7 separate regions of the Homo sapiens genome follow, and regions 1, 3, 4, 5, 6 and 7 are each linked to region 2. Evidence: promoter capture Hi-C in 16 types of primary human blood cells and fetal thymus (Javierre and others, 2016). All regions are on one chromosome and are shown on one strand. Each heading gives the region's core, a stretch centred on a gene start or on the middle of the fragment in contact. The rest is flanking DNA. Distances are from core to core; before and after follow the strand shown.

The links. Contacts are between HindIII fragments. The CHiCAGO score rates a contact against its expected background, and 5 or more counts as called.
Region 1: a contact is called between a fragment that was not itself captured here and the fragment with the promoter of HEG1 in region 2, in 2 of 17 cell types (naive B cells and total CD4 T cells). The highest score is 5.6, in naive B cells.
Region 3: a contact is called between a fragment that was not itself captured here and the fragment with the promoter of HEG1 in region 2, in 4 of 17 cell types (activated CD4 T cells, total CD4 T cells, naive CD4 T cells and 1 more). The highest score is 7.5, in activated CD4 T cells.
Region 4: a contact is called between a fragment that was not itself captured here and the fragment with the promoter of HEG1 in region 2, in 3 of 17 cell types (naive CD8 T cells, activated CD4 T cells and total CD4 T cells). The highest score is 7.2, in naive CD8 T cells.
Region 5: a fragment that was not itself captured here is called in contact with the fragment with the promoter of HEG1 in region 2 in 2 of 17 cell types (naive CD8 T cells and megakaryocytes); the score reaches 5.1 in naive CD8 T cells.
Region 6: a contact is called between a fragment that was not itself captured here and the fragment with the promoter of HEG1 in region 2, in 7 of 17 cell types (total CD4 T cells, naive CD4 T cells, activated CD4 T cells and 4 more). The highest score is 7.6, in total CD4 T cells.
Region 7: a fragment that was not itself captured here is called in contact with the fragment with the promoter of HEG1 in region 2 in 1 of 17 cell types (erythroblasts); the score reaches 5.1 in erythroblasts.

The regions. Positions count from the first base shown.
Region 1 is chr3:125,456,162-125,459,856 of GRCh38, reverse strand. SNX4 (sorting nexin 4) reads left to right here. Exons shown (of 14, transcript NM_003794.4): 11 at 2,492-2,591. Among named protein-coding and RNA genes, the nearest start is that of SNX4, 62 kb to the left of the region's middle. The HindIII fragment of the contact is 5,987 bases long and covers 1-3,695 here.
Region 2 is chr3:125,054,406-125,057,937 of GRCh38, reverse strand. HEG1 (heart development protein with EGF like domains 1) reads left to right here and starts at 1,941. Exons shown (of 17, transcript NM_020733.2): 1 at 1,941-2,363. The coding sequence starts at 2,048. RefSeq lists an enhancer at 1,378-1,427 and silencers at 1,678-2,057, 2,138-2,227, 2,288-2,447. The HindIII fragment of the contact is 2,339 bases long and covers 1,328-3,532 here.
Region 3 is chr3:125,388,798-125,392,838 of GRCh38, reverse strand. It overlaps the pseudogene RNU6-232P. Among named protein-coding and RNA genes, the nearest start is that of ZNF148, 15 kb to the right of the region's middle. The HindIII fragment of the contact is 2,230 bases long and covers 561-2,790 here.
Region 4 is chr3:125,366,111-125,370,198 of GRCh38, reverse strand. The region is part of intron 1 of ZNF148 (zinc finger protein 148); the gene reads left to right. Among named protein-coding and RNA genes, the nearest start is that of ZNF148, 7.2 kb to the left of the region's middle. RefSeq lists enhancers at 794-1,294, 1,295-1,795. The HindIII fragment of the contact is 4,992 bases long and covers 173-4,088 here.
Region 5 is chr3:125,411,909-125,415,681 of GRCh38, reverse strand. It overlaps LOC105374081 (a long non-coding RNA gene), which reads left to right. Exons shown (of 3, transcript XR_924428.4): 2 at 419-494; 3 at 760-843. Among named protein-coding and RNA genes, the nearest start is that of ZNF148, 38 kb to the right of the region's middle. The HindIII fragment of the contact is 2,337 bases long and covers 362-2,698 here.
Region 6 is chr3:125,435,808-125,439,431 of GRCh38, reverse strand. No RefSeq gene overlaps it. Among named protein-coding and RNA genes, the nearest start is that of ZNF148, 62 kb to the right of the region's middle. The HindIII fragment of the contact is 4,100 bases long and covers 1-3,624 here.
Region 7 is chr3:125,555,468-125,559,083 of GRCh38, reverse strand. All of the region lies in intron 8 of OSBPL11 (oxysterol binding protein like 11), which reads left to right. Among named protein-coding and RNA genes, the nearest start is that of SNX4, 37 kb to the right of the region's middle. The HindIII fragment of the contact is 1,721 bases long and covers 646-2,366 here.

The DNA.
Region 1 (3,695 bases), core at 139-2,638, 400 kb before region 2:
TACCTCTGTGGTGATTGGTGTGAAATCATCTGCACATTGTTAGCTCGTTTTCCTTCTAGGGCTTTGAGTAGTAGGAAGTCTCACCAATGTATTTTCAAGTCACCAAGCAAAAGAAAGTTGGCTAGGTGAGGTGGCTCCTGCCTGAATCCCAGCACTTTGGGAGCCCAAGGCGGATGGATCACCTGAGGCCAGGAGTTCGAGACCAGCCTAGCCAACATGGTGAAACCCCGTCTCTACTAAAATTACAAAAAAGTTAGCCAGGCATAGTGGTGGGTGCCTGTAATCCCAGCTGCTGGAGAGGCTGAGGCAGAATAACTGCTTGAACAGGGGAGGTGGAGGTTGCAGTGAGCCGAGATCGCACCATTACACTCCAGCCTGGGTGACAGAGTGAGATTCTGTCTCAAAAAAGAAAGTTGCTGAGTACAGTGGAATTCTCTGCAGCTCTTAAAAATTATAAAAGGGATTAATGTATGTTGACATGGAAAGATGGCCAGGGTGTATAGCCATTTGAGAAAAGATGTAGGAACCATTTGGGGTGCATGGATATGGTATTTGTCAATGCCTAGCTAAATTCTGAAAGATTATATACTATCTGGTAACACCGATTATATCTGGATAGTGGGATTGGAGGAAAGAGAGTGTTCTTGAACTTTCTTGTTGTATTTTGTTTTTTTTATTTTTTTGAGTTGGAGTTTCACTCTGTTGCCCAGACTGGAGTACAGTGGCACAATCTCTGCTCACTGCCACCTCTGCCTCCTGGGTACAAGTGATTCTCCTGCCTCAGCCTCCCAAGCAGCTGGGATTACAGGCATGCACCACCATGCCCGGCTAATTTTTGTATTTTTAGTAGAGATGGGGTTTTACCATGTTGGTCAGGCTGGTCTTGAACTCCTGACCTCAGGTGATCTGCCCACCTCGACCTCCCAAAGTGCTGGGATTACTGGCATGAGCCACCATGCCCAGCCTCTTTTTTTTACTTTGTGCATTGCTGTATTAGAATCTTTTCTTTTCTTTTTTTTTTTTTTTTTTTTTTTTTTTTTTTGAGACGGAGTCTCGCTCTTTCACCCAGGCTGGAGTGCAGTGGCGTGATCTCGGCTCACTGCAGGCTCCGCCCCCCGGGATTCACGCCATTCTCCTGCTTCAGCCTCCCGCGTAGCTGGGAGTACAGGCGCCTGCCACCTCTCCCGGCTTTTTTTGTATTTTTAGTAGAGACGGGGTTTCACCGTGTTAGCCAGGATGGTCTCAATCTCCTGACCTCGTGATCCACCCGCCTCGGCCTCCCAAAGTGCTGGGATTACAGGCATGAGCCACCGCGCCCATCCGAATCTTTTCTTTTTACAGTGAACATGGATTACTTTTATGATCATAAAAACTAATAAACATTTCTAGGCCAGGCGACATGGCTCATGCATATAATCCTAGCACTTTGGGAAACTGAGGTGGATGGATTGCTTGAGCCCATGAGTTTGAGACCAGCCTGGGCAACATGGGCGAGACCCCATCTCTACAAAGCACAAATTAGTTGGATATGGTGGCACATGCCTTAGTCCCAGCTACTTAGGAGGCTGAGGTGGGAGGATTGCCTGAGCCCAGGAGGCAGAGGTTGCATTTAGCCGAGATTGCACCATTGCCCTCCAGCCTGGGTGACAGAGTGAGACCTTGTCTCCAAAAAAAAAAAAAAAAAAATACCTAATAGACATTTCTAAATCACAAAGAAGAAAACTTTGAGGTATTATCTTTTCTAAGAATACTCAGTTGCTATGTGAGATTACAGCATTAGTTCTTACATTATGTAAGAACTAATTATGTATGTAGTTCATTATGTATGTAATTATGTATACATATGTATACATTATGTATGTAGTTCTCACATACATTAAAAAATGTTTTATGTATGTGATAATGGCATGTTTATTGAAAGAAATGTTCCAAGTATATGGAAAACAACTTTTTTTGTGTTAAGAATATATGACGTTTTTGGCCGGGTACAGGTGGCTCATGCCTGTAATCCCAGTACTTTGGGAGGCCGAAGTGGGTGGGTCACCTCAGGTCAGCAGTTTGAGACCAGCCTGGCCAATATGGAGAATTCCCATCTCTACTAAAAATACAAAATTAGCTGGGTGTGGTGGCGCATGCCTGTAATCCCATCTACTAGGGAAGCTGAGGCAGGAGAATCATTTGAACCCGGGAGGCGGAGGTTGCAGTGAGCCGAGATCGCGCCATTGCACTCCAGCCTGGGCAACAAGAGCAAAACTCTGTCTCAAAAAAAAAAAAAAAAAAAAAAGAATATATGAAGTTTTTATGGTTAGGTTCTGCTAGATTCCATTAGATTCCATTTTTAATGTTGGGCTACTACATTTTAAACTTGAAAATTCTGGGCACACACATTCTGCCCTAGCGAGACATTGTGAATGGTTCTCCTCTACCCTTGAAAAAAATGTTTGACATGTTAAAGGAAAAGTTAAATGGCAGCACATTTTTTCATCTGTAGGGCTGTGTGCAGGAAACATGAACTTATGCAGTATGACTTGGAGATGGCTGCTCAGGACTTAGCATCCAAGAAGCAGCAGTGTGAGGAACTGGTAACTGGGGTGAGTATTTTCCTTTTGGCCTCTGATGATACTGTAGCAACACGGAATGTTCCTCACAAGCACTCACTCTGAGTGAGTAACTCACTCCTGTAGAATCAGTTCCAGTTACAATACTCAGGACGGCTGAACCTTTTACAGGGGAATAATTTGTGAGTAACTTTATAATTCTTTTATTATTATCTTGATACAAAATGATGTAAGCCATTAAAACCATGTACTGTATAGAATTATAAGAAATTTTGCCAACATTTCTCTGGTGTAATCAGTATCATCCGGTTTCGTTTTAAAAAAAAAAAAAATTATTGGGCTGGGCACGGTGGCTCACACCTGTAATCCCAGCACTTTGGGAGGCCAAGGCCAGTGGATCACCTGAGGTCAGGAGTTCGAGATTAGCCTGGCCAACATGGTGAAACCCGATCTCTACTAGAAATACAAAAATTAGCCAGGTGTGGTGCCTCACGCCTGTAGTCCCAGCTACTCGGGAAGGTGAGGCAGAAGAATTGCTTGAACCAGGGAATCGGAGGTTGCAGTGACCCGAGGTCACGCCACTGCACTCCAGCCTGGGTGACAGAGCAAGACTCCATCTCAAAAAAATTGTTTTTATTAATTTTTATTTTTTGAGACAAGGTCTGGTTCTGTTTCCCAGGCTGGAGTGCAGTGGTATGATCAGGGCTCATGGAAGCCTCAAACTCCTGGGATCAAGTGGTCTTCCTGCCTCAGCCTCTTGAGTAGTTGGGACCACAGGCATGTGCCCCCATGCCTGGCTAATTTTGTTTATAGTCTCATCATGTTGACCAGGGTGGTCTCAAACTCCTGGACTCAAGTGATCCTCCCACCTCCGCCTCCCAAAGTGCTAGGATTACAGGGGTAAGCCACCATGCCTAGTCTATCATCTGGTTTCTAAGTCCAAGTGAAAAAACATGCAGTGACCTTTATCAGGTTTAACTTTGCAAGGTACTTTGCAGAAATTTTAGTTGACTTTGAAAAGCCTTACCCACTTAGAACCAGTGCATCTCGCCTAACAGGGAGCTTTTGATGTACTTTATTCTTTAATGCTTACAGTGAGTACTTGTGAGGAAAATTCTGTACCTGATTGCATTAGTC
Region 2 (3,532 bases), core at 692-3,191:
AGATTAGAGAGAGATAAACCTGTGGTACTTAAAGTGGGGTGGGATTGGGGGGTGGGGGAGGATTGGGGGGAGGTGGCAGGTACATGTTTACTCCTTGGGTCTTAGTAGAGAAGGCAGATTATCTCATAGGATCCCTGAATCCACACGAGAAGCCTGTAAGGGCCATTCTACCCTTAAACCTTTCCACTTGCCTGGGAGTGCAACCAGTACTATGTGACATGGTCTCCTTGGAGGGGAGGGAGTGGCAGTGACCAGAACCTCTGAGCACAGTCCTAGTCTGTTGGGGCTTGTCTGGCTGGGTCTGGGCAGCTGTGCAGTCCTGCCTGTTAATGTGAGAGCAGCATCCAGAGAAGTTAAGCTCAGGCCATGGGAGCAAACCAAGTCAGTTTCAGGGAGATTACTGTTTGGTACTTTCTTGGAGAGACCTGGAAGTTCTGTGTTAGAGCCCTGGAAAGCTGGTTTGTTTAAAAACAAAACAAAATAAAACCAAATCTTTACTCCTCATTCTCTCATTTAAGGTGAGTTTGTTTATACACAGCCTCCTTTATGTTTTTCTGCCAAATGACTCACTTGTACTGAGTCACCAGAAAGTGGGCCTAGGCCCATCTGCAGCTGCCCTGGACACTACGATCTCATTCTCCTGGAGGTGGGTCATGGAGATCTGGAGACAGAGAAAAAGAGAAGAGCAGAGAAATAGGATGGAGAGCCAGGCCTGACAGTGAGGTGCATACTCATATTTTCACGAGCATTTGGTTGTCAGACAGGGGCCCCCAACAGAACTCGCAAGAACCCCAAGGAGCTGCAACATTTGTTTCTGTTGCAATACTATTTGTTTCCGTTTGCGAATTATTGCAAACTCTGAATTAGGAGACCAGAATTAATAATATCACATGGTCATTCACAGATCAATCATTTCGTCTTCGGGTCTACCTTCAGAATCTTGAGCAAGTTATTTTCCCATTTGAGCCCCTCTTTCTTCACTTAATGAGGTGGCTTACAGTCCTAAACTTTAGACAGTTTATTATTCATTTACTGGGGAGGGAGAGGTTATGGAAACAAATGGAACTTTATTGACCAAGAAAATTTGTTTACATGAAATCTTTGAATCTTTCCCCATAGGTTTCCATTTAAAATTCTGTGTTCTCTGGGCATCATTTGGTTTAATTTGCGATCTGCAGTTCTTTTCCTGATGATGAGTTTGCCCTAGCCTGCCTGAATTCACAGTTTTCTTTTCCCTGCAGCCTGTTTGGGTGTCCTCGCGGTGACATCTCTGCAGAACTCTGGTGTGAGCCAAAGGCAGTGGTCGGATGGGAACGGCATCCAAGCTTGAGAGGGCGTGGGGGATACTCGGATTCTCGCGTTGGCCGGAGGGTGAGGTGTTAGGTTTGGCAAACACGAGCTCATCACCAGCCCTGGGGCCTGAAGAAGGGGAGGTGGGGGTGGGAGTGGGGACACTTCAAATCAATAACGGCGGTGACAGCGCGGGCTGGGTACCAGGGGACCGTTCCCTTTCTCTCTCCTATCAAAGCACTTGGGATAATCTAGTCTGGTGCTAATCACATTACCCAGGACCTGCTTTTCACCTACTTCTTGTGCGTTTAAGGAGTTGGGTAGGTGGTGCCCGATTCAGAAGACTCTGGAGCATGTGTGTGACAAAAGTTGCAGCACCGTGGCTCCGCTGACCTCATCCCGCTGTCCCGGGCCGGGCCGCTCTCCAGGCGCCCGGCCCCAGCCCCCTTCCTGCCCTCTCCCCGCCTCCGGGCCCGCCGCGCGGGGCCGGTGATGTCAACTGAGGAGGAGCCGCCCGCCAGCCAGCGACCCGCCCGGGCTAATTAGCATGTAGCGGCGCCGCGGGCCGCCTCCGCCCAGCCAGCCCGGCCCCCGGCAGCCCTCCCGCGGCTCCCGATAACTTTTGAGGCGGGGAGCGCGCTCGCAGCCTCACTCCGCTCACTTCCCCGGCCCCGCGCGGCCCCCGCCGCCCGCTGCCCGCTGCCCGCTGCCCTCGCCCCGCGCGCCGGGCATGTGAGCGCGGGCGGGCGCCGTCACCATGGCCTCGCCGCGCGCCTCGCGGTGGCCGCCGCCGCTCCTGCTGCTGTTGCTGCCGCTGCTGCTGCTGCCGCCGGCGGCCCCCGGGACGCGGGACCCGCCGCCTTCCCCGGCTCGCCGCGCGCTGAGCCTGGCGCCCCTCGCGGGAGCGGGGCTGGAGCTGCAGCTGGAGCGCCGCCCGGAGCGCGAGCCGCCGCCCACGCCGCCCCGGGAGCGCCGCGGGCCCGCGACCCCCGGCCCCAGCTACAGGGCCCCTGAGCCAGGCGCCGCGACACAGCGGGGACCCTCCGGCCGGGCCCCCAGAGGCGGGAGCGCGGGTGAGTGAGAGCCGGGAACCTGGCGCCTGGCCAGTCTGTGCTGGGGGCGTGGGCGCGCCCCGGGCTGCATCCCCAGCCGTAGGCCCCTCCGCGCGGCGCGACCCAGGGTGGGGGCTCCTCGCCCGGCGTGTGCGGGACCCTGAGGGTCGGCGGGTAGGGAGGGACGCTTTCGCAGTTGGCTGGACTGAGGGGTGTGACTATCCCGTTCTCCTCCAACCCTTTGGAAGAAAACTTATTTCCTATGGGGTACCCTGTATCTCTTCCACCCCACTTTAAAAAAAATGGAAAGGAAAGGGAAAAAGACTGCAAAGCATCTCTCCCACCTCCGATATCTGGCCAGCCGGTCCCCAGTTTCATTTTTTCCGCTATACAGAACTGGCCTCTCCAGGTACAGGGCTCGACTTTCTCATCTAAATAACTGATTTTTAAGGGGTTCTAGGACGGGATATTGTAAAGGACAAAGGATGTACGTAGTTTGAAACAAAACGCTCTACTGGTTCGACTTAAAAGCAAAGGAACGCGGTTGGGGTTGCATGGTTGAACCCCTGCAAGGCACAGGCTGATACAGGACCATCCCTGAGCCTCCTCCCTCCCCTTTCCTTTCCCAATGAACTGTTGCTCCGTGGTAGCCACCGCCTGTCCCACGCAGAGAGAAGGAACTGACCTCTTCTCCCTGCTACCTTTGTGTCCAGTTCTTTCTTATGATCTGGAAAAATATGCCACATACTGAGTGGAATTCTAACCATAATACCATTATGACCTTGGGACTGCTGTCTCTTTGCGCTCACTTTCTCCATCTGTGAAATGAAAGTGATGATCCCTGTTCCTTCTAGCCTCCTAGTGATGATGTGACAAAATGAAAGTAAAAATAAATGGAAAGTGCTTTGAACAAAGTCAGCAACGTGGTGGTGTTAGCCTTTGCCTTCCTGTGAGTGACACAGGGCATATGCTCTGTCCGGGCTATTCAAATAAGCTGGGTTGCTTGCAACACTGGACATTGATTTGGAGTTTCCCTGAAAGTTGAGTTTTTTGTCTGCATAATTGACAATTCATTTAAGTTTCTCATCTCATGCAGACTTTCTGGCACGTGAATTAGCTTGCTTCCTCCAACCTAGAGGTGCTTCTTAGAGTTAAATAAGAAAAAGTTTGGATTTTTAAAAATCAAGTTC
Region 3 (4,041 bases), core at 426-2,925, 340 kb before region 2:
TATTACAGTGATTAGCAGATGAAACTAAGGCCCAGAAAGGTGGAGTAACTTGCTCTGGGTCACAGAGGCAGTAAGTGACAGTGCTGGGATTTGAGCCCAGTCTCTCTGATTTCAGAGCCATCACAGCTTGCTGCCTTAGTTCAAAGTGTAAGCATAGACAACTCACATATAGCTAGTCAGGGTTTCTCAGCCTTGGCACTGTTGACATTTTGGGCTGGATAATTGTTTGTATGGGGGGTATTCTGTGCATTGCAGGATGTTTGGCAGCATCCCTGGCCTCCACCCACTAGATGCCAGTAATGCCCCTTCAGATGTAACAACCAAAAATATCTCCAGACTTTGCCAAATATACGATGCGGCAAAGCAGTCTCCACACCCAATTAAAAACACTGAGATTTTAGGGTGCAGGACTTCCCAAGAGAAGACTCGCATGGAACCACTGAGAATACGGAAGATCCAGATAATAAATATGGTATATTTGGGTAGCTGGGTTGATGACTTAATTGTAGCGCTTGGGTCCTTGGTAAATCCCTAGAAGTTAATTAACTCTGTGTAAAGCTTATGTGAATAAATATTTATGCACATGGACATAGAAACACAAAGATGAAACTATAATGTTTCATGAAAAATACCCATGCCAAAATGCATGTTTTTTCCTCTTTTGCAGTCACCCTGGGAGGCTTTATGCTTCTGCCAGAGGTACCTCATTCCCCAGGATGGTGCCAGGCCTGCCTTTGGGACCAACCTCTGCTTTGAATTCTCTACCTGTGGCAAGTCTTCATCCTTTTGGAAACAACTAGAAGTTACCAAGGAGATGAGCAAGGTGGACAATCAAATTAGGTGATCATGTTACGGTTTTTCCCCCAAAGAAGACATGACCGTGAAGAAGTAAGATTGATCTTTCTGTGAAGTTTATTCAATGATTATTGTACATTGGTGATTTCCTTAAACAAATCATACAATAATAATACTAACTACCAGTCCCTGAGCACTTACAATGTGCCCTGTAGTCTGCAATATTCATCTCATGGAATCATAAGAATTATCTGACCTATCACCATACACAAAAATTAACTCAAAATCATGAACTTCCTAAATGTAAGAGCTAAAATCATAAAACTTTTAGAAGAAAAATCAGTGTAGATCTTTTTGACCTTGGATTAGGCAATAATTTCTTAGATACGACACTTAGAGCATAAGCAATTAAAAACATATAAATTGGGACCAGGAACAGTGGCTCACGCCTGTAATCCCAACACTTTGGGAGGCCAAGGCGGGCGCATCACCTGAGGTCAGGAGTTCAAGACCAGCCTGGACAACATGGCAAAACCTCGTCTCTACTAAAAATACAAAAAAATAGCCAGGTGTGGTGGTGGGCGCCTGTAATCCCAGCTACTTGGGAGGGTGAGGCAGGGAGAATTGCTTGAATCTGGGAGGTGGAAGTTGCAGTGAGCCAGATAGTGCCACTGCACTCCAGCCTGGGTGACAGAGCAAGACTCTATCTCAAAAATAAAATAAAATAAATAAAAAAGAAACTACATAAGTTGCTGAAGGTCATATAGTAAATAAGAGGGGTAACATTTGAAATCAACCTCTAGGCCACTGGGTCTCAACCAGCAACAAGCAGCATCAGCAACGCCTGGAAATTTGACAGAAATTCACATTATCAGATCCTATCCAAGACTTACTGAATCAGATATTCTGGGGTTCTCGAATTGGGGTGGGGCCTAGAATTTGTGTTTCAATATGCCTTGCAGATAACTGAAGCAGCCAAAGTTTGAGAAGCACTGCGCTGTGCTAGGTGATACTGCCACTCAGAGCCTAAACTAAGGCAGGTGTGTTAAAGATGAAAGCAGAAGACAGATCGGAGAATTATTTAGAAAGTTAAGAGCTCTGGGGCCAGGTGCGGTGACTCACGCCTGTAATCCCAGAACTTTGGGAGGCCAAGGCGGGTGAATCACCTGAGGTCAGGAGTTCGAGACTAGCCTGGCCAACATGGTGAAACCCCATCTCTACTAAAAATACAAAAATTAGCCAGGCGTAGTGGCAGATACCTGTAATCCCAGCTACTCTGTAGGTTGAGGCAAGAGAATTGCTTGAACCCAGGAGACAGAGGTTGCAGTGAGCTGAGGTCACGCCATTACACTTCAGCCTGGGCAACAAGAGTGAAACTGTCTCAAAAAAAAAAAAAAAAGAAAAAAAGAAGAAGAAAAAAAAAAGAGATCTGGGCGTGCCATAATCTCAGCACTTTGGGAAGCCAAGGCAGGTGGATCACTTGAGGTCAGGAGTTTAAGACCAGCCTGACCAACATGGTGAAACCCCATCTCTACTAAAACTACAAAAATTAGCCCGGCTTGGTGGTGGGTACCTGTAATCCCAGCTACTCAGGAGGCTGAGACAGAAGAATTGCTTGAACCCGGGAGATGGAGGTTGCAGTGAGCCAAGATTGTGTTACTGTACTCCTGCCTGGCCAACAGAGCAAAACTTCAACTCAAAAAAAGAAAGTTAAGGGTTCTGTTTAAAAGGCAGCTGGGATTACAGGCATGTGCCACCATGCCTGGCTAATTTTTGTATTTTTAGTAGAGATGGGATTTCACCATGTTGGCCAGGCTAACTCCTGACCTCAAGTGATCCGCCTACCTTGGCCTCCCAAAGTGCTGGGATTACAGACGTGAGCCACTGCGCTTAGCCAAGTATGCAGTTTCTCTTGGCCTGTTTCCTCTTCTGTATAATGCTGATACAAGCCTTACCTTTGAGAGTTGTATTACCTGAGATTATACAGGTAAAGCTTTTAGCATGTTAAGCCTGGACAAATAGGGGCTTAATAAAGGGTAGTTTTTTAGGCCCACATCATCTCTCTCCTGGGCTCACTACTGGTCTTCTCCATCCCTGATCATCCCATCCAAGTGATTCGTTTCTATCTCTGACCCCAACTATCTAACTTTCAGCTCTCTTACTTCATTTTGCTCACTGTGCCTGGTTTTCAGTTGTATTGAGGTTTTGGCCCTTTTATTATCTCCCGTTAGCCCCATCTGCTCCCGCACTCTGAATGGGATTTCTCTCCTCTCTGGCTAGACCACAGGTCTGTCCCTTTTGCCAGTGCCATTGATTTCCTTGACCCATATTCTTTGCAGTGCTGACCTTAGGAAACCTTGAGCTTATTGCGGGTATTTGTTGGCCTTCCCATATTCTACCTGACCTGCTGGATGCTGCTGGAGAAAGTGACGTAACAAGCTGCTCCTTATGGGTCTAATCTCAGAGTCCTCGAGCTGCTCTTAATCTCTTTATTTTCCCTTTTGAATGCAGCCATTTCAAACCTTCTCCAAACTCTTCCGACTTCCTACCACAACACCTTCCCGCTTCCTCTCAGCAGGTGATCTCGTGGTTTACAGAGGAAATAAAAGTGTCTATTGACTTCCTGCCACTGCTTCCATGGATTGACCTCTATCTACTCTTGTCCTCTCTTCTGCCCCTTTGCCTAATACTTCTATTGTGCTTGGGGCCCCTTTTTCAGTCCTGTGACCGCCCATACAGCTTTTTTTTTTTTTTTTGAGACAAGGTCTCACCCAGTCACCTAGGCTGCAGTGCAGTGGCATGATCATAGCTTACTGCAGCCTTGACCTCTTGGGATCAAGCCATCCTCCCACCTCATCCTCTCAAGCAGCTGGAACTACAGGCTCACATCACCATGCCCCACTAATTTTTTATTGTTTTGTGGAAATGGGGTCCCACTATGTTGACAGGCTGGTCCCGAACTCCTGAGCTCAAGTGATCCTCCCTCCTCAGCCTTCCAAAGTGCTGGGATTACAAGTATGAGCCACCACATCCAGCCGGGCCTAGTAGGGGGTGTGCAAATCTTTTCTGTATCATTCCAATTTTAGTATATGTGCTGCTGAAGTGCGCACTCTACTGCCTTTTAAAAATATTATTATTATTATTATACTTTAAATTCTAGGGTACAAGTGCACAATGTGCAGGTTTGTTACATAGGTATACATGTGCCATGGTGGTTTGCTGCACCCATCAACTCGTAATTTACAT
Region 4 (4,088 bases), core at 1,419-3,918, 310 kb before region 2:
GGACCAAGGGGTCTCTTCTAAATTTGAAGCTAGTTTAATCTGGAGTAAAATCTGGTCTGTAGCAGGGTGCTGGTTTAATTTAGATTTTTTTTTTTTACCTCAGGCATAAATGACTGTTTTAGGACTGTCTGATTTAATTCTTTTTTAGGATAGTAAAAATAACAGATAAGCTTCTTCTCTCAAGGAATTTGTAGTATTTACAATTTTTTTTTTTTTGAGACGGGGTCTTGCTCTGTTGCCCAGGCTGGGGAGCAGTGGTGCGATCTCAGCTCACTGCTGGGTTCAAACTCCGCCTCCTGGGTTCAAACAATTCTCCTGCCTCAGCCTCCCAAGTAGCTGGGATTACAGGAGCGTGCCACCATGCTCAGCTAATTTTTGTATTTTTAGTAGAGGTGGGGTTTCACCATTCTGGCCAGGCTGGTCTTGAACTCCTGACCTCAGGTGATCCTCCCACCTTGGCATCCCAAAGTAGTATTTACATTCTTTTGAGAGAGAAAGACAGTTGTGAAATAATTCAGTAATGGTATAAGATTTCAGAAAGTTGATTTTTAAAAACAAATATCAAAATTATATCTCCAGATAAGAACTTTTATATTTCGGTGGTCATTTTCAGTAGCAGTGTTCAGAATGTTTTTAGAACACCTTTTCTGAATTAACTTCTGAGTACAATTCTATAGAATTTACCTATTTATTGAGTATCTAGTGTGTGCTGTTGGGGGAAGGGGTCTATAAAGGTGAGCGAAACATGGTCCCTGTTTGCTAGGAGTTCATAATCCCTTCAAGAGGCACACTTTTTTTTTTTTTTTTTTTTTTTGAGGTTGCAGTATTCTTTGTCTTCTGGAGAGTTTTAGTGTGGGAAATCTGGAAATGTATTAAAATGACCCTAGAATGTTCTTTCTAGGCTTCTATGGCTTTTTTTTTTTTTTTTTTTTTTTTTGAGGCAGGATCTCACTCTGTCACTCAGGCTGGAGTCCGGTGGTGTGATCTTGGCTCACTGCAACCTCCGCCTCCTGAGTTCAACTGATTCTCGTGCCTCAGCCTACCAAGTAGCTGGGACTAGAGGCACACACCAGCACACCCAGCTAATTTTTGTATTTTAAGTAGAGACACGGTTTCACCATGTTGGCCAGGCTGGTCTCGAACTCCTGGCCTCAGGTGATCTGCCTGCCTTAGCCTCTCAAAGTGCTGGGATTACAGGTGTGAGCCACTGCGCCGAGCCCAAGAGGCACACTTTTGTTTGTTTGTTTGTTTTTTGAGATGGAGCCTCTCTCTGTCACCCAGGCTGGAGTGCAGTGGCGCCATCTTGGCTCACTGCAACCTCTGCCTCCCAGGTTCAAGCGATTCTCCTGCCTCAGTCTCAGAGTGGCTGGGACTACAGGCGTGCACCACCACTTCTGGCAATTTTTTGTATTTTTTAGTAGAGATGGGGTTTCGCCGTGTTGGCCAGGCTGGTGTCGAACTCCTGGCCTCAAGTGATCCACTCACCTTGGCCTCCCAAAGTGCTGTGATTTCAGGCATGAGTCATCACACCCGGCCAAGAGGCACACTTTTAAATAATACATGGTATAATCTTATTCTGAATGGTCTTATTGATGACAGATCTTTTTACTTTGAAATTTTGATTTTTAGAAATGCTGAAGGTTAGTCAATATCAAATAGAGTGAATGAAAAATAGTTTTGCCTTAAATCCAGTTAATCACAGAAACGGGAATAATTTTCTTGGTTGACTTATTAGCTGATTTTGAAAACACTCCCAAGGAGGAAGTTGGAAATATTTTGAACAGGGGTGATAGCTTCACATGTAGTTAGTTAGGCACTACATAAATGTTGGTTGAGTGCATCAGATGGTTGGATGGATGGAGTGAATAAATGAGTAAGTGGTAGCCTTCCAAAGTAACTTATTTTAAAGAGGACCATACTGATTTGAATGTGTAAATAAATTTTTTAAAAACTCATTTTTCTCAGATGAAATAAATTCTGAGTATGTTTGTTAATAATTTTATTACCTTGAGCAAGATAGTTTAAGTTCACAAATGAGTTTTACAGACAGTAAGTGCTGTAGGAGTTCAGGGAATGGAGAAATGAACATTGGCTAAGGTTTGGTGAAATGATTTAAGTGAACCATACTTATATTTGAAAAGATTCCTTAGGGATCTCAGAGAGGAACTAAATGACTCCAAATTCCTCTTGCAGCCCTAAAGTGAACCTAGAGTCTGGATCTATTTTTGTCTGAATGCTTTCTGCCTGTTTCATTTTAGCTACTCCTACTGGTTTGTTCCTTTCAGATTCACATTTGTTGGTAGATGTTGAGCCCCCTGAAACAACTATGGGGTCTGTTTTCCGTCTTCGTATAGTGTAACTTTTAGTTGTTCTTTTATGAGCCTGTACCCCACAAATTACTTGGCCTTCATGAGAGAAGAGCATGAGTCAACTTGGCCCTGTTATCCTGGCATTTTCCTGCATGCTTTTCTCAAAGCTGCTTTCTGAATTACGGAATAGAATAGACAGAACTGAGGGCATGTGTCCAGTAGACACGAGCTTGTTGAATGAATGAATGAATGAATGAATGAGATATTTGAGATAATTTAGGAGATCTGAATTGTCTATATGTTTTATGTTTCTTTTTCATTTATTCATAACCTGCCTTTTTCTACAAAGGACTTAACAGGGCTGCCAAACTATATGCACTAGCAATGAATTGAAATAATTCAATAAATCTGGTTAAAGAGATGATGAAGAAAAGAAAAATCTGTTTAAAGAATATAGATCAATGTGTATCGGTGTTAGAGAACTAGGAATAAGGTAGAAGATAAGCAGATGGGGAAGGAAAGGTGGTATCTGATAGAAAGCATGATTCTGAAGGAGGGAAAAGATTACTGAAATATGACAGGCTATCTTTGGAGGAAAGCATGAGAAGATGGAGGGTAAAGAGGATTATTTGAGACGGCTGTTTTGAGGAGGAAGATGGTAAGGCTATTTGAAGGATAAGAGTCAACAGAAGTTTGGAATATAGTAGAAGTTATTAAATTATGTTGATTTATAACAAGGTTTCAGAAAATGATGGGATGAGCTTTATTTAACAGATAATGCACATTTGTTATATGCAAAAGCATATAATGCTTTGCTGTCAGGAATAAAACCTTTGGGATTTATATTGTGGTAGGGCAGCTGGACTTGTGCACAAATACCTGTACTATAATCACAAATATATCTGTGAGTCACAAATATACCAAATATTACTGAATTTAAAAGGCAGAAAATGCATTTGATTAGGAGAAAACCTGAGACAGAACTTTAAAGGCATAAAAGTGGAATTTTAGCTAGTCTTTGAAGGGATTGATAAGATTTTTTTTTTTAAGTTTTGGATTGATAGGATTTTGATTGGCAAAGATTACTGAAAGAGAGCATTCCTGCCTGAGAGATTAGCGTAAGCAAAGGCTTGGAGGTGAGAAGCCCAGGAGATGTGGGGAATGGTGAGTTAGGTTTTAATTTTTAAACTATGACCTATAGTAAGAAATACATGTCACACTTCTATCTAATATATGCATGTATGAATGTTTGTGTGTGGGTAAAACAAGAAGTTTCATAATACAGTAACTGTCCTTAACAGTGGCAGGTGCAGTTGGATGTTATCTATTTTGTTTGACTAAAAAGAAAAAAAGCTGGCCAAGGGGGAAGAAAAAAAAGCTGATTGTCACTCATTAAACTGATTTCATGACCGACAAAATAATTAATCACAATCTATAGTTTGGAACGCAGAGAGTTCATGAATAAGGTATAATACAAGGTAGGAGAGTCAGTTGGGGTTGGGTTGAAAATGGATGGCCTTGAAAGCTAAGCTAAGTAGTTTGTATTTGATATGATGTAGTGTTGTGCTTGGTAAGCAAACAGAAGCTGGGTTTTAGTCTTGGCTCTTCTGTTTACCCACTGTATGATTATGGAGAATTATTTCCTTTCTGAGTTTCCATTTTCTCATAAAATTGATAATCATACTTTCCTGGCAAGGGTTATGGTGAGGATGTGAGAATTAAAGTATGTTAACATATGATTAAAGTATGTTAGCAGAAATCATTAGTGTATAGCTGTTG
Region 5 (3,773 bases), core at 281-2,780, 360 kb before region 2:
TTTGAAAGCCAAAAGTCCTAGCCAGAGAAAGGGCCAACTGAATAGGGACTGAGTTTCCAGGATAAATGATTCAATGTGCAGAAGTTCCTAGAGATGCTTGCTCTCTCAGGGAACTTGTGGCAAATGGGGGGTTTCAAACCTCTCATTTAGAGCCCTGTGATTGTAGTGAGGTCAGCCCTGCCAAGTGCCTGCCACCCAGACATGCTCTCCCTGGGACTTTAGGTAGGTCATGACCAATCATGAGCCCTAGAGCTTAAAAGATCCTTTAGCTCTTGCCTAATGTGGTCACCCCTGTCTGTACAGGAAGTCCTACTCACAAATGTTCGCAAGGCAATTTCAAAAACACCTGTCAACCAAAGCTTACGTAGACCCTCTTCTCTATATGTTAGAAGAATATATGATGTTCTTTCTATTCCAGGACGTATAACATTGGAAAGAAGCAATTTACTCATCTAGACTTGGAGAGTCTGGCTCAACATCAAATTAAAATCATGGTATGTCTGTGAAGGGTGGGGATTAGGTGGGGAGGTCCAGGGTAGCTTGCCGAGAGATACTCAAATAGGGTAAATACAGCCCATCCACCCGGAGCACCAATTTTTTAGAAGTTTTAAGGGGGAAAACACATTTTTATCTATAAACACATTATGAAACAGACTGTAAAATTCACATGAATTTTAAATATAAATTGCAAATTTTCAAAGAAATTTTTAGCTTACAGCTGGCCTTTTTGGGCTACAACCTCTTCTCACCCACCCCCAGCTGGTGTTCACGTGAGGGTGCTTTTGTGCAAAGCTGGAGAAGCACGGGATGTGAAGGGCCTTGCTGGAGGCAGAGCTCTGCAGATGAACCAGAAGACCGCACCCGAACCCCCGTTCAGCTGCGAGGCATAAACGCCTTCCCCTGGTTAGGAGCTGATGCCTCACTGTGAGCTTGGATGGCAAGTTCATAGAGGCCATCCACACGAATGGGTTTAATGGGATTTCTTTATCAATTGTTTAAAGAGAGTCTTTAGCGTCCCTCAATACCCTTTCCAGGAGGATACACAGAATAAATTCCTGCTTGACTTTTAGATCCCAGATAAAACTACTCCCGCAGAAGAATTAGAATTTCTTTGTCATATTGGACAATAAAAATTATGTAACTTACTGTGTTTCTTTGTGCTTCATTGCCAGACATCTTAGAAGCAAATCTCTTAGTCTTTTAATATGTTTGGTCCTGGTGCTGGAAAATGCCTGCTTCTTCTGTCACCTTCAGATGGACTCTGCTTTCCCACTCCTGTATGTCATGTCCTGTTCTGGGCTGTAAATAGCCAGCCCAGGAAGCAAGCAGGGCACACATTTTAACATATATATTTTTTCAATCAACTTTTAAATGACCATGACCAATTTACAACCAAAATTCACAAACAAGGCAAAAAACTATTAACACAGACTCTAAGACAAGTCAAGCATTAAAGAGAAACAGCTGATTTATTTATGTATTAATTTATTAATTCATTTATTTATTTGAGATGGAATTTCACTCTTGTTGCCCAGGCTGCGATCCAATGGCACGATCTTGGCTCACTGCAACTTCTGTCTCCTGGGTTCGAGCGATTCTCCTGCCTCAGCCTCTGGAGTAGCTGGGATTTCAGGTGCCCACCACCACGCCCAGCTAATTTTTTTTTTTTTTTGTATTTTTAGTAGAGACAGGGTGTCACCATGTTGGCCAGGCTGGTCTCGAACTCCTAACCTCAGATGATCCACCCACCTCGACCTCCCAAAGTGCTGGGATTACAGGTGTGAGCCACTGCGCCCGGCCAGTATTTTTTAAGAAAGGAAAATCTATGCAAATTTACATTGTTTTACTATTTTTAAAAAATGCCGGCTGGAGGAGGTTCACACCCTAATCCAAGCACTTTGGGAGGCTGAGTTGGGAGGATCACTTGAGCCCAGGAGTTCGAGACCAGCCTGGGCAACATAGTGAGACCACCATCTTTACAAAAAATAAAAAATTGAGGTGAACGTGGTGGCTCGAGCCACCTGCAGTCCCAGCTGCTTGGGAGGCTGAGGCAGGAGGATTGCTTGAGCTGAGGATGTTGAGGCTGCAATGAGCTGTGATTGTGTCACTGAACTCCAGCCTGGGTGACAGAGTGGAAAAAAACTTTTTTAATGCTGCAGTGAGTACCTATGTGCATAATTTTCTGATTGGCTCTTTAAGATATATTTCTGGAAGTGAAATTATTGCCCATGTGGTGTGACTATTTCCAAGGACAAATTAATTTTCCATGTCTGTTATGATGCTGTGAGTTGCAAGAAAGGCAGCGTAGCACAGTAGCTAGAATCTGTGGACTCTGGACTGCCTGGATGCAAATTCTGGTTCCACTACTGAGTAGATTTAAAAGCAGACTGTCTACCCTCGAATTCACCTCAGGAGCTAATGGTAAATATAAGAATCTACTCAGCAAAACGTAGAATAGAAAAGAAAGAGCAAGGGAATATAAAAACTAGAAAGCATAAAAGAAAATGAAAGAAGCAAACCCAAATAAAACCATTATGAATATAAATGTAGATGAGTTAAACTTGCCTAGTAAAAGACAATGATTCTCAAACTGGGTCAAAAGTCAAATGAGACTGAATGCTTTCTCACCTTCAGTTAACTCACTCTTTATGGCTAGGTGCAGTTGGGCACATCTGTAATCCCAGCACTTTGGGAAGCTTGGGGCGGACCACTTGAGCCCATGAGTTCGAGACCAGCCCTCCCTGGCACCGTAGCAAGAACCTGTCTCTACAAAAATCAAAAGAAAATAGTAAAACAAATAGCCAGGTGTGGTGGTGCATGGCTGTAGACCCAGCTCTCAGGAGGCTGAGGCAGGAGGATCCCTTGAGCCCAGGCGTTTGAGGCTGTGATGAGCTATGATCATGTCATTGCTCCATCCTGGGCAATAGAGTGAGACCTTGTGTCTAAAAAATACAAACAAAACCCCCTAATTATTTACCATAATATCTGGTCACCACACCCAGTTTACCACGGCCACTCACTGCTTTTATCATGGTGACCAAGGTCATTTAGGTGGTCACTAAATCTAGTGGAATCTTTTCAGCCCTTGTCTTTCTTAACCTCTTGGAAAATATTTGATGCTATTAGCCACACCTTTCCTCTTAACGCAAGCCATTCTCCTGGCTTCTTCTTCTTCTTTTTTTTTTTTTTTGAGATGGAGTGTTGTTTTGTCACCCAGGCTAGAGTGCAGTGGCGTAATCTTGACTCACTGCAACCTCTGCCTCCCGGGTTCAAGTGATTCTCCTGCCTCAGCCTCCCAAGTAGCTGGGACTACAGGCACCACACCTGGCTAATTTTTGTATTTTTAGTAGAGATGGGGTTTCACCATGTTGGCCAGGCTGGTCTCCAACTCCTGGTCTCAAGTAATTGGCCTGCCTCGGTCTCCCAAAGTGCTGGGATTATAGGTATGAACCACTGTACTCAGCCTTACTGGCTTCTTAAAGTTGCATGCTCTCTGGAATTCTTTTCTCTGGAAAAGCAGCAATTGGAAAGAAGCAATTTATTCATCTAGACTTGGAGAGTCTTTTAAAAGTCTTTTTCCTTTGCCCATCCCTTAAATGTTAGTGCTGCTCCTCAGGGTTCTCTCCTAGGTGCTTTTCTGTCTCCCTGTATATATGCTTTCTGGAAGCTCTCAACCATTCTCAAAGTTTGCATTATAACCCATATACTGATGTATCCCAAGTCTAGAATTCCAGCCCAGACCTCTTTCCTGGGCTCCAGATCTGTATAGCCAA
Region 6 (3,624 bases), core at 507-3,006, 380 kb before region 2:
AAGTGCTGGGATTATAGGCATGAGCCATCACGCCCGCCCTCTTTTTTTCTTACTGATTTTTTGTCGTTGTTGTTGTTGTTGGAGGTACTCAGGATTTTATTTTTATTTCTCACGTCTCTTCCATCTGGCTGTTTATTGGCATCCTTTAAATTTTCCTTTGTAATAAATCAGGAATAATAAGTAAGCATTCCCTGGGTTTGTGAGTCATTCTAACAAATTATTGTAATTGCCTGATAAGTGCACAGACAAAATCAATTCACTGAGACTGAGGTATTGCAGTAAACGGAGTTATTACTCAAATCAGTCTCCTGACTTTTTGTTGTTGTTGTTACTGTTGACTTGATCTATAAATTACTGGGAGAGGTGTATTAAAGTCTCCTAAAGTTGAACTTGTCCATTTCTCCTTGCAGGGTTGTCAGTTTTTGCATTATAAATTTTGAAGCTATCTTATCAGCTGCATATAGGCTTTTGTTATATCTTATCTAATTCTGCCTTTTATCAATGTGTCCTCTATTTGTAATGAGAGCCCGATTCTCACCACCCCCCTCAACTTATTTCATGTGCATTTCCCTTTGAAAAATTTAAAGGGCTGCATGGATAAACCACAATTTAACTTTTTGTCTATTATTGGACATTGTTTCTAATTTTTCATTTTTATAAACCACACTGAAGTGAGCATCTTTGTATGCAATTGTTTCTGATGATTTCCTCCTCTGGGTAGATTTCTTGTAGTGGAATTACAAGGTTAGGCTGTATGAACATTTTAAAGACTTTTCATATATGTTGTTCCTTCATGGCTGTTGATGAAATTAGAATTTTTGGTGCCTGTGTCACCCAATTGGCTCCTGTTGAGCTATCTGTTCCCAAAATCCCTCAGTGTTTTTGACTTGGTCTTTTTTTTTTTTTTTGTCCCTCACCCAATATGTGTGCACTTGGCAGACTTTATGTGTCATTTGGAACTTGCATTACTCCTCTTACAATTTAATCCGTTAGATTGGGCCCGTCCCTCCAAACCGTAAGTCTCTCCCAGCCTCTGACCAGCAGAGTGTCGGCCATGATGCAGGGGCCGTGTCTTCTGTAGCTTTGCTCCAGTCAGTTATGGAAATAGTGAGAACAGAACTCCATGGCAAACCACTGGAAACAAGCCCATGGGGATATCAAGTTCTTTTTCAATGAGGCTAATAGTTAATAGTTTATTAAACATTTACTATGCACTAGGCACTACATATATGTTAACTCATTTGATTGTTACGACAAACTCCAAAAGTAGATATTATGGTCTCTATTTTAAGATATGGGAATTGAAATTCAGGGAGAGAGGAAGTCTGTCCAACTGGTCACCCTGCTACTGGGTGAGCAGATCAGGATTCCAACCTCTCAGACTTGGGTTCTGGTCCGAAACCCAAATGGCCAGCCCTGTTCTACAGGAATCTACCACCAGGTGGCGGTAGAGCCAATGGGCCCAGGAACAACCTCTCTGAGATCTGAAATTAGCCACAAAACTGCCTTTTTTTCCTATAAAAAGTAGCGCTGACTTTTATTGACAGTAACTAAAACTAGATTATTCAATAAAATAAATATTAACCTAACAGGCACATTCCTCTGGGTAAAACGATAATAAAGTAAGCAGACCTTTGAACTTGGACCTTTCAAGCCTAGATTTCATCAATATAATTCCTCAGGGGAAAATCTCTTTTTCTAAGTCACCCACACTTGGGCAATTCTCCCTGATTTTCTGCCCATTCTTTGCTGCCTCTGCCCTCTGCACTAGCACACTCCTAGCAGTAATCAAAGCTATAGGAAGACCTTCAACTGGGAAAGCGTATCAGAATTTGAGGCAAGAAATTTAGAGAGTGGGATGTTGGTGGGCAGTGAATGGTCCCCAGGAGATTCGAATATACCCTTCTAGGGGGCATAGGTGGGCATTCCTGGTTCTGGAGAGAATCTCAGATTCACCATCTATCCAGGCACCCTTCAATCTTCCAGCCTGGGAGGAAGGACGTGCCTCTTTCTTTTCTTCAATCTCCCCATCACATTTTGAGATTTTTCTGCTCCACTTTAGAAAAAAAAAAGAAGGTTTTATTTTTTAAACTCTTCCCCTTTCCTTTTTTTTAGCGTTCCTGTCTGTACAAACACTGGTGCTTTGCTTGTCCATTTTCCACTCTTGCTGGGCAGCATCTTTTTCAAACCATTTGAACATACATTCAAATTGTTTCACCATGTTGTGGGTATTGTATTTCAATGGAATTGGAATATGAAAAGGCCTTTTTTTTTCTTTGTCTGAGACAGCATCTCGCTCTATCACCGAGGCTAGGGTGTGGTGGCAGGATCATAGCTCACTGCAGCCTCCACCTCCTGGGCTCAAGCCATCCTTCCGCCTCAGCTTCCTGAGTAGCTGGGACTACAGGCACGTGCCACCACACCTGGCTAGTTTTGTTCATTTTTTGTAGAGATGGGGTTTCACTGTATTGCCCAGGCTGGTCTCGAATTCAAGCAGTCCTCTTCCCCCGGCCTCCCAAAGCTCTGGGATAACAGATGTGGGCCACCGTGCCCAGCAATTGAAAAGGACTTTTAAAACATCCTACCATGTTTTGGTTCTGCCTGGATGGACCAGTGTTTCCCCCTAGCCCTCCCCCAGCAGTGTCCCAGGCATGAGTTGACTGCCTCCCAGTGCCCTGTCCTCACACTGAAGGGAGGGTCCCTCTGCTCCATGCACAAAGGTGAGCTCCTGACTGGCACCAGAGTTAGGGACCTCCAGGTGGGGCTGGTCCTAGAACAGTAGCCAAGACTGAGGCTCTAGGCTGCAAATCAGGGGATTCTGAAGTCACATTCAGGCCTGGTTGGACTCCTGGCTCCACCTCTTACAAGTTCCATGACTTGTCAGTTACTTACCTTTACTGAGCCTCAGATTCTTCAGGGCAAAGTGTGGATAGCACCTGCTTTGCAGAACTATTATATTAGATACAATTGGCCAGGTGTGGTGGCTTATACTTGTAATCCCAGCACTTCGGGAGGCTGAGCCAGGCGGATAACTTGAGGTCAGGAGTTCGAGACCAGCCTGGCCAACACAGTGAAACCCCATCTCTACTAAAAATACAAAAAATTAGCTGGGCGTGGTGGCGCATGCCTGTAGTCCCAGCTACTCTGGAGGCTGAGGCAGGAGAATCACTTGAATCCGGGAGGTGGAGGTTGCAGTGTGCCAAAATTGCGTCACTGCACTCTAGCCTGGGTGACAGAGCAAGACCCTACCTCAAAAAAAAAAAAAAAAAGAAAAAAGAAATGTTATATTAGATACAATAATGACAATAAATGCATGTCAAGTGTGCCTGGTAGGTATGTGCTAGGTAAATAACGTTGGCTATTGTTCAATGGAGTAAGGGATCTGGGACATCTCACAGAATCATGGAATGTTATTGCTGGTGGTCCCATAAGATCATAGGCTAGTTCTCTTAAATAACCAAATAGCTTGCTTTACCCACTTGAATGAAAACAACAAATTATTTTTTAAGGTCTAAAGAAGTGACTCCATGTTCCCAACACACTAATTATTTAAAATGTCCTTTTTACAAGGAGTGGTCTCTGTTAAAAAAAAAAAAAAAAAGTCCTCACTGGAACTCCTCCCAT
Region 7 (3,616 bases), core at 257-2,756, 500 kb before region 2:
ACAGCCATAGACAATATACTGGATTGGGCATGGCTGTATTCCAACAAAACTTCATTTACTAAAACAGGAGGCCAGATTTAACCCAAAGACTACAGTTTGCAGATTCCTGGCCAAAAGCTTTGCTTCTTTAAGTGTGATCTGAAGACCAGTAGCATCACCATCACCTGGAAACTTGTTAGGAATGCAGAATCTCAGGCCCCAGTCCCAGACTTAGTGGACCAGAATCTGCATTTTAATAAGATCCCTGACGATTCATATATACATTAAAGTTTGAGAAGCACTAATCTGTAGTTTTTAATTTTAGGCCAGTTTTCTCTGTTCCCAGTTTAACTAGTGTGCCTTAATTTGTCTTAACAATTAATCCATGACATTAATTTAAAAAGCCAATCAAGTTCAAAACCTATATATGTCAAATATTTATTACTGTAGGATTATTTACTTTGAATTACTGATGAAACAATTTTACATTAGTATGGAATTTCAAAATTGACTTTAGGAGGTAGATGTCAATTGGAGATTTTTTTGATGCCATTGAAGGTAGATTTAAAACATTGTTTCCAACGAACTGTTCATCTGAAAATATAACTTAAATAGAAAGCATAAGAAGCAGACATTTTAGGAATTAATAAAGAAACCCATAAAGCTTTCATTATTTATATAGCTTCAGTATTTCAACTGGGAATCATTTCTGTTCTAGAAATATTTTCATATTAATGGTTCAGAAAAGACCTCATAGTTGTGAAATTGGTTAAAAATGAATAGTCTTCTGAAGGGGTTGTTTGGTATTAGTTAGCATGGTGTTTGCAGTCCCTGAGTAGATTTGCATTTATAAGGCACAAGAGCAGCATTGAGGTTTATGAGGCATAAGAGCATTTGAAAAAAGTGTGCTGTGATAGTAATCCACATGGTAGAAGTTCTCTCATGGCATGAATAAGTGCATATACTATACTTTCTCTACATTTGTACCTTGTTGATTAAAAAGTTGTATGTGGCTGGGTGTGGTGGCTCATGCCTGTAATCGCAGCACTTTAGGAGGCCAAGGCAGGTGGATTACATGAGCTCAAGAGTTCGAGACCAGCCTAGCCAACATGGCGAAACCCTGTCTGTACCAAAAAATACAAAAATTAGCTGGGCATGGTGGTGCACGACTGCAGTCCCAGCTACCATGTGGCTGAGATACAAGAATTGCTTGAACCTGGGAAGTGGAGGTTGCAGTGAGCCAAGATTGTGCCACTGCCAGCCTGGTCAACGGAGCGAGACCCTGTCTCAAAAAAAAAAAAAAAAAAAAAAAAGAAAGTTGTATGTGTTACACATATATTACATTAACATTAACCAACCACAAATTAAGAACATCTATACAACATTTAATGGAATGATACTTTTCAGGCAATATTAAAGAGCCTGGTGGCTGGGTGCCATGGCTCACACCTATAATTCCAACACTTTGGGAAGCTGAGGCGGGTGGATCACTTGAAGTCAGGAGTTGGAGACCAGCCTGGCCAACATGGTGAAACCCCGTCTCTACTAAAAACAAATTAGCCGAGCATGGTGGTGCACGCCTGTAATCTCAGCTGCTCAGGAGGTTGAGGCAGGAGAACCGCTTGAACCCAGGAGGCAGAGGTTACAGTAAGCTGAGGTTGCGCCACTGCACTCTAGCCTGGGCGACAGAGCTAGATTCTGTCTCAAAAAAAATAAACAAATAAATAAAAATAAAGAGCCTGGTGACTAAACTGCAGTCACAGCTACCTCTTATCTAACAATAACACTTAATTAACAAATATTTACTGGGCCCCTGTTATATTCCAGACACTGTGCTAGGTCTTGGGACAGGAACAAATAAGATAACCATGGTCCTAGCCTTCATGTTGTGAATAAGTAATATGCATTTTCCTACTGTTCATTTTGTTTCTTTTTAAATAATATTATGAAATTATATAAACACAAAATTTTAGAAAACTAAAGAAAATCTATCATTTTACTACCCTAACATAACAGAGCTCTCACTTTTATCTTTCTTCACATTGTCATAGTTTATATGGAATTTTGTTTTACTTCCTTTTTTCAGTTAATTTTTGTGTGTATGAAATGTGTTAAACACACAGAAGACTGAATGGTATACATATAAACATTCAAAGAAAAAAGATAAAATGAATACCCATGTATCTACCTCTGACATTAAGTTGTAGAACACTGCCTGAACTTGGAATCTCTGAGTTCCCCTCTAATTTATAGTCCTCTACTTTTTCCTCCATAAAACAATTTACTTGACTTGTGTGTTAATTATCCCTCTACTTTTTGCTATAGTTTTACTGCTTTTTTGTACTCCATAATGATGTTTAGGAAAAAATGAATAGCTAACATAAGCTTAGCATAAGGAAAGGACTGTGTTGCCATTTGTAGAAAGCAGCTCCCAGAAAAAGACAAGTTAAACATTTGAGTCTCTGGCTTTAGCTTCTTATAAGTTATTGAGAAAGTTTAGAAGAGCCCTTTCTTGTGAAATTATAAGGCAAAGTTGTGAGTCCTGTAAAATATACATCCCAGAGCATTTGGTGTGAGTCAGCTACAGGAGGAATGTGGGCTGGGGGAGTGAGCTGCTCAGTATTTTCAGTTTCAAAGCAAACTGTGACCTACCTCCAACTCTGAGGAATAGATTGAAGTCAGAAGGCTTCTTTCGGGGAAATGAGCATCTTCAGCCAATCCAGACAGCAGAACATGGAGAGGAGACTAAGAACTTCACCAGCAGATAGTCAACACAAGCCAAATACAGATACACTTGGGATCAGTTTCACTAGGCTATTTTATCCTGAGGTTTGAAAAGATGATACAATGGCAGCATGAAGCATGTGGATGACAGTCTTCAGTATGTCTGTCTCTTGAGTCACATCACTCTAATCTGGACCAGTATTTCCTTTAGCATTCTCTTTGGCTAATCCGTTTACTGTATCCGTTTCTTCTTTCTTGGTTGCCTCTCATTTTGTTGGAATATATCCTCCATTAATTTCTCAGAAAGATTTGTAAGAAGCGAATGTGAAAATGTGTGTCTGAAATGTCTGTGTTGCCCTCGTGTTTCATTGCTGGTTTAGATAGAATTTGTTACTTGTGGCCAGGTGCAGTGGCTCACGCCTGTAATCCCAGCACTTTGGGAGGCCAAAGCAGGCAGATCACTTGAGGCCAGGAGTTTGAGACCAGCCTGGCCAACATGGCAAAATCCCCTCTACTAAAAGTACAAAAATTAGCCAGGCATGGTGGCACATGCCTGTAATCCCAGCCATTCAGGAGGCTGAGGCACAGGAATCACTTGAACCTGGGAGGTGGAGGTTGCAGTGAGCTGAGATGACGCCACTGCACTCCAGCCTGGGTGACAGAGCGAGACTCCATCTCAAAAAAAAAAAGATAATATCTCCGTGCTGCAGGGTTCTAATGAAAAGACTGAAGTCATTCTGATTCCTGATCTTTTGTTTGTGACTTGTTTTGTATGTTCTTCTCTCCAAAATTGTTTAGAATCTTCTCTTTATCATGTCTTGGTATTGTGACATTGATGTAGGTTTCTTTTATCCATTGTATCTGGGCACTTGGTGGGCCTTTTCAGTGTGACAACTCATGTTTTTGAGTTCTC